2 separate regions of the Homo sapiens genome follow, and region 2 is linked to region 1. Evidence: promoter capture Hi-C in 16 types of primary human blood cells and fetal thymus (Javierre and others, 2016). All regions are on one chromosome and are shown on one strand. The core of a region is centred on a gene start or on the middle of the fragment in contact, and the rest is flanking DNA. Distances in the headings are between cores, read along the strand shown. Region 1 holds the start of SLC25A38 (solute carrier family 25 member 38). Region 2 overlaps CSRNP1 (cysteine and serine rich nuclear protein 1).

Region 1 (3,248 bases), core at 465-2,964:
ACACTTGTAATCCTAGCACTTTAGGAGGCCGAGGCAGACGGATCACTTGAGGTCAGGAGTTCAAGACCAGCCTGGCCAACATGGTGAAACCCTCTCTCTACTAAAAATACAAAAACTAGCCGGGCGTGGTGGCGCACGCCTGTAATCCCAGCAACGTGGGAGACTGAGACAGGAAAAATACTTGAACCCGGGAGTCAGAGGTTGCAGTTGAGCCGAGATCACGCCACTGCACTCCAGCGCGGGCGACAGGGCGAGACTCTGTCTCAAAAAAAAAAAAAAAGAAAAAAGAAAAGAAAGCTCAAAAATATATTCAAGGTAAATAAAAAAGTAGTTTCTTTTTAAGGGGAGAAAGAAGAGGGCATAAACAATAATACGCACACGAAATAAGTAGCACATAAGAGTACAAACTGGATCCACAAGCAATTCCTACTGCCCTGAAAAAACTATCCTAAGTCCAATTCACATCTGGAGGCGAGGGCTGGAGAGCCCTGAAAAAGGTAAGCAGGTTTTCAAAGACGTCAACGTAAAGTCGCCACCGCCGCCGTCTCCGCCTTTAAGGATTAAAAAAAAAAATAAAAGCCGCCCCTACCTCGGGCGCAAGACCTCAGAGGGAGAGCTGCGGCAGCTGCAGTGGCCTCAGGCCTTTAGCGTCTAAAGACTGGTTGCACCCCGACTCCACCTACCGGGCAACCACGCCGCCAGCCCCGCCTCCGCCTCCACCAATAGCGGCCCGGCGGCCCGGGCACGATGACCAATCGAACGCCGGAGGAGGCGTGGCGTCGCTGGGGGACCACGCGCCGTCCCAACAGGCTGGAAGGGTGCCGCCACGACTGGCCCCTCCAGGTAGGCCGCCGCCCGCGGGCGCACAGCGCTACCCGGCCAGCTCGCTGCGGCATCAACGGCTTCTCAGCGTCAGCGCTATTATCAGGCCTTGTGACCGTCCCAAATCTGCCCGGGTGCCCTTCCACCTGGCAGCCTACTCGCACCTTGTGGGGGCCGCGCGGGCACACTCCCCGGCACGCGTCCAGTCCAGGCCCCGGCAATTCCGCCCTTTACCGGGACATCGGCCCTACAGCGCCTGCCCCCAGGGCTGGCCTGCAGCTCCTGGCCTCTCCTCACTCCCTGCCCCCTTCTCAATTCCCTTAGTCAGACTCCTCTCCCGCCGCATCCTAAATCCTGAGCGCACCCTGGGGCGCGGAAAAGGGTAGCCGAGCCTTAGCAACGCCCCGAATTCTCCGGCCCGAGCCCGCGGTTCGGACCCCTGCCCTTCCTTCCCCGCAGTGCCCTCACCATAAGCGTTTCCACCGTGTCTCCGACATCTTGGGGTTGCAGCAGCGACGGACGTGAGTTCTGAATCATTGGAGATGAGGCCCGCGAGTCCTCTGGGCCCAGGGTGCCGTCGACGGGCGCTTGGGCCCAGCCCTGGAGGCCTTGAAGAAGGCTAGGGGGTGGCGCTAGCCAGGCGACGCGCTTTAAGCCGCGGGCTCTCTGACGTCTGCGCCTATAAGCACGCAGCCGCCGGGGTTCGGATCCTGCTAGTCCAGGGGCTGCGGGCGCGGAACAATCTTGCTGCGGGAATTACGCGCCGCTCTTCACCCGCGCCGCAGACTCCGCGGCTCTGCTCTCCTGCCCATCCTGCCCTGCTGCAGGCTTCAGCACCGTAGGAGATGAGGTTCTGTGTATCCCGGGGTGGAGGAAGCGCCGGAGGAACTCTGTAGAAGGGGAGATTTCGCTTCCGGGTGGGACGCTTGTCACGTGAGGGTGTTCTGAGTGCCACCTGGTGAAAACGCCCAGAACTGAAGGATCCGCGCTTCCTTGCACCCAGAACTTAATGGAGCGTCTGCAGGGAACTTTGCTTTTGCGTGGAACGTCTGAACGTATTTACAATCCAGACCTGGTCTGCCCAGTAAGGCAGCCACTAGCCAACGTGGGCTATTGATTTATTAATTGATACATTAATTTTAATTATATTAAAACAAGCAGTGTGGAATGCTTTCTCCTTAAACAGGCGTTTTTTTGTTTTGTTGTTTTTTTTTCAGGACCATATTTCCCTTTAAATGCTGAAAATTTAGTGTGGAATTGATATGTACTGTATGCATAAACCACACGCTGGATGTCTAAGACTGGTGAGGTAAAATCTCAATAATTTTTATATGTTGAAATGATATTTTGGATATATTGGGTTAGGTGAAATATTAAAATTAACTTCAGGCCGGGGGCAGTGGCCCAGGCCTGTAATCTCAGCACTTTGTGAGGCCTAGTCTGGAGGATTGCTTGAGGGAGCCAAGGAGTTGGAGACCAGCGTGGACGACAAAGCAAGACCCCGTCTCTAAAACAAATAATAATAACTTCATGTGTTTCTTTTTAAATGTGGCTAGTAAAACATTTAAACTTTAACATGTGGCTCCCATTACATTTCTGTAGGACAGCGCTGGTCTAGTTGGTCAAAATTCTGGTTTATTGCTCACCTGGAATCTGTCAATGGCTTTTTTGGTCTCCCAACTTCCCCTTATGCCTGTCTGGCTGATCCATGGAAAAGCATTACTGCTGGGATCCTGACACTCCTGTTGAAAATGCAGTGGCCCTGGTAATAAAGTCCAAGCTTTTCATAGCAACCTTCGCTACTTTCCACCTTCATTCATCACCCAAGAACTAGATCAGAAAGGAAAGTGACTTAGGGAGCAAGATAATATTTTTTCAGGCTTCATTCCTGTGCTTCTGAGGTACATAGAACAGGAAGGAAAGTGGTCCCAGAGGAGGTTATTCCCAGAAAGGATTAAGGAAAGTATAAACATTAAAAAAAAAAAAAAAATTACAGGCCGGGTGCGGTGGCTCACGCCTGTAATCCCAGCACTTTGGGAGGCCGAGGCGAGCCGATCACGAGGTCAGGAGATCGAGACCATCCTGGCTAACATGGTGAAATCCCGTCTCTGCTAAAAATATAGCCGGGTGTGGTGGCAGGCGCCTGTAGTCCCAGCTACTCGGGAGGCTGAAGCAGGAGAATGGCGTGAACCCAGGAAGTGGAGCTTGCAGTGGGCCGAGATCGTGCCACTGCACTGCAGCCTGGGCGACAGAGCGAGACTCCATCTCAAAAAACAAAACGAAACAAAATTACAAACCTGCCTGGTGATTGAATACTTTGCTACCCTTTGTTCTAAGCTGCAAGGCTTATTTTTCTTTGTGCAGTAGTGATGTTGATAACTATGCACTGAAACTTCTTTTTAAAGGAAGACCTAATTCCACCCTGA
Region 2 (3,239 bases), core at 9-2,508, 240 kb after region 1:
AAGGTGTCTGACAGCCTGGACAACATCGAGGCACCTCACTTCCCCCTGCCTGGCCTGTCTCCACCTGGGGATGCCAGCAGTTGCTTCCTGGAGTCCCTCATGGGCTTCTCCGAGCCAGCCGCCGAAGCCCTAGATCCCTTTATTGACAGCCAGTTTGAGGACACTGTCCCAGCATCTCTAATGGAGCCTGTGCCGGTGTGAGGACCAGGATGTCTTTTCCCAGCCCCAAGAGACCTGTTGCTGCTTTCTTGTAATTATGGGGCTCCCCAGAGTCTGCGTAACAGTCTCCCACTGGCTGGCTCACCCACAGGTGCCATGTGCACACTCCTGGTTTTCAAACAATTCTCTGGATTTATTTATTTGTTTTAACTTTTCTGTGCTGAAGAGAGGACTGGGGGGAGGGGGCTTCCCCTTTCAGCTGCCCGGCCCCCCACACCCACAGCTTGCTCTTCTATCTCCACAACGTGAGCCTGGAAGAGGAGAAAATGTGGCTCCTCTGGAGCTTGGCAGACCACTTTTCGGTCTTTGCGTGATGTTCCTTAGCCCAAAGACGGTGAGACAGGGCTGAAATCAGGTGGCTTCTGCCACCCTGAGCCCTAGACCCATGGGTGGCTAAATCCACTGGACTGTGAAGACTATAATTTATTTCCATAATTTATTTGGAGATTGAGGAGGCTTTGGTTGCACTTCTTTGGCTGGTGGGTAATGCCAGGGGTGGGGTGGGCACAGGCCCTCAAGAGCCCCTTTTGCCTTGTAGTCCTACACCTTGCCCTGCCTGGGCTTTGGTGCAGACTAGGTGTGGATTTGAGCTCTGTGATCTATGTCTGCTGCCTGGCTCCTAGATGGCTCTGTGGGCAGGTGCTGGCCAAGGACATCATCTAGGCAGGGGGAGAGCCTGGGCTGAACAGCTGTGACCAAAACTCCCTTCTGCCCCACCCTGCCCCCTCCACTTCCTGCCCTCTGTTCCATCTTCCCCCTTCCCAAAGGCCACAGCCTTTATTCCAGGCCCAGGGATGTAGGAGGGGGAAGGAGGAAACAGGAAGCCCAGAGAGGGCAAAGGGCCTACCTCGGGGCGCGAACCATGCCCCAGACTATTATCTCAGGGCTTTCTGGGCACTGCACTTCAGCGTGGCCCACCTGCCCATGCCCTGAGGCCAGTTGGCGAGGGGTGGCTCCTGAGGGTTTTTATACCCTTTGTTTGCTAATGTTTAATTTTGCATCATAATTTCTACATTGTCCCTGAGTGTCAGAACTATAATTTATTCCATTTCTCTCTGTGTCTGTGCCAAGAAACGCAGGCTCTGGGCCTGCCCCTTGCCCAGGAGGCCTTGCCAGCCTGTGTGCTTGTGGGAACACCTTGTACCTGAGCTTACAGGTACCAATAAAGAGGCTTTATTTTTAGCAATGTGGTATGTATTTGTGGGGTGGGAAGCAGGGGCAAAGGGGATGGGGGACAAGCCCTGCAGAGGGGAGTATGGACACAGGCTGTGTTGAGGGGTAGGAGTAGGCACACCCAGCATATTGGGCCTCTTTCCAGGCAAGCCAGTCAAGTTGGAGGCAGGAAGCCAGCTGAGAGGCTGGCCAGGCAGATAGAGCAGTTTTTCCTTTGGAGTAACCTGTTCCTCTACAGTGGTGACCTGGGGTGGTGGGGAGGAGCAGCACCAGGGTCTTCTGACATGGGGCTATCTGCTGGGGATGGGTAAGGGCACCCTTCTTCCTACACACCCACACTGAGCTGAGGCCTTGTCCTGAGGGTGAATTCACCAACCTGGGTGGAGGCAGGGTAAGGGCATGTGCCTGGTCAAGGCCTGGTGATGGCCTTACGTAGCAGCTGTGGTCCCTGGGGACTTGAGCAGGGGGGCAGCGGAAAGGGCAGGGGGAAGCTGCAGAACCTCATCCCTCTGCACCAGCCAGACCTGTCTGACCTGTCCCTGGCAGCTCAGCTGGGCAGCAGGCCAGAGGAGTAGGCCACACCCTGCTCTGGGGAGCCCCAGTCTGGGGGCCTGAGAAAGGTTGACTTCCCCCTTAGGAATGATAGTGATTTGTACAAGAGCTGGAAGGAGGAACCGCCAGAGGAGAACTGATTTGGGTCTCCTTGCTCTAATTCTCTGCCTTGGTCTGTACTGGGCTCACTCATCTCTTTGGCTTAACTGGTAAGAGCACAGAGCCAGAATGCTGGGCTTGAATCTCAGATTTTCTGCTACCTAGTGAGGTGATTTGTGCAAATTACTCCCTCTGTGCCTGGGTGTCCTCAATACTACATGCAAACAGTAACACTACTCACCTCATAAACTTGTTTATTTCATATTTACAAAGCCCTTAAAGAGTGCCTGGAACATGCAAGTCCTGTGTATGTTTGCAACTTGCATTGATTTTCATGTTTCTGCCATTCTTTCTCTGAATGTTTAATCCTTTTTTTGCCTGTCCTGTCACCCTTCAGGTATCTGTCTCTTGCCTCTGGACATGCATGGTCATGACCACATGGCCATATCAGTGCCATTAGAGGACTCATAGTTTGGAGTCTGGCCTATGGTGCGGCAGTATGTCCCTGTAACCAGCTTAACTAGGAATAGGCTTCTCAGGTTAGAGTACCCTGGTACATTGAGTTGTCCTGTCTCTTCTTCACTGGTGCCTAGACACCCTTCTGTAGCGATTACTTCAGCAAGCACAATCCAAAACCTGGGTTCTTCAAGGGTTCCCAGGGTCACTCTGATTGGCCTGGTGGTCTGGGTGGCAGCCCTCAGCTCCAGTACTCTGGCAGGAAGTCCCAACAGGCTTCCACCACATGGACTCAGCCCATGGCTGGACTGAGGCCTGCCTACTCCCATCTAGGGCCACAGGGTTCTTAGTTTTTGTTTCTCTGTTTTTAGATAAATGAAGACAATCTAGGTTTTACAGCAAAAACATGATTAATGTACAATCCCTTTACAGGATCATTCTCCATATAGATAGACCTGTCAACAAACCTGTCCCAACAAAACTGGGTTGTAAAGCAGATCACAGAAAGGGGACTGGGTTTTCCCGTAGGAAAAATGGTAGTAACCTGGAGAAAGCATTCCAGATCCCCAGCTCATATCAACAAACCATGTATGTGATCAGCAGTGTGTTATAAAAACAAGGCTCAGCACCATCCGAGTTACACTGTTCCAAAGGGACCCTTATCTGTCCACTGTTCCCAAACCTTAGTCACTGGACAACTGCTCTTGAAAACTCTGCCCATATCATATCTGCATTCTACT

What was found. Contacts are between HindIII fragments. The CHiCAGO score rates a contact against its expected background, and 5 or more counts as called.
Region 2: a contact is called between a fragment that was not itself captured here and the fragment with the promoter of SLC25A38 in region 1, in 2 of 17 cell types (fetal thymus and naive CD8 T cells). The highest score is 7.3, in fetal thymus.

Annotation. Positions count from the first base shown.
Region 1 is chr3:39,381,836-39,385,083 of GRCh38, reverse strand. It overlaps SLC25A38 (solute carrier family 25 member 38), which reads right to left and starts at 1,714. Exons shown (of 7, transcript NM_017875.4): 1 at 1,291-1,714. The coding sequence starts at 1,359. LOC105377644 (a long non-coding RNA gene) reads left to right here and starts at 759. Exons shown (of 3, transcript XR_007096252.1): 1 at 759-843; 2 at 2,040-2,131. RefSeq lists enhancers at 506-575, 1,046-1,095, 1,106-1,205, 1,226-1,405 and a silencer at 666-815. The HindIII fragment of the contact is 12,754 bases long and covers 1-2,604 here.
Region 2 is chr3:39,140,017-39,143,255 of GRCh38, reverse strand. CSRNP1 (cysteine and serine rich nuclear protein 1) reads left to right here. Exons shown (of 5, transcript NM_033027.4): 5 at 1-1,401. The coding sequence ends at 201. Among named protein-coding and RNA genes, the nearest start is that of MIR6822, 3.4 kb to the right of the region's middle. The HindIII fragment of the contact is 8,062 bases long and covers 1-3,239 here.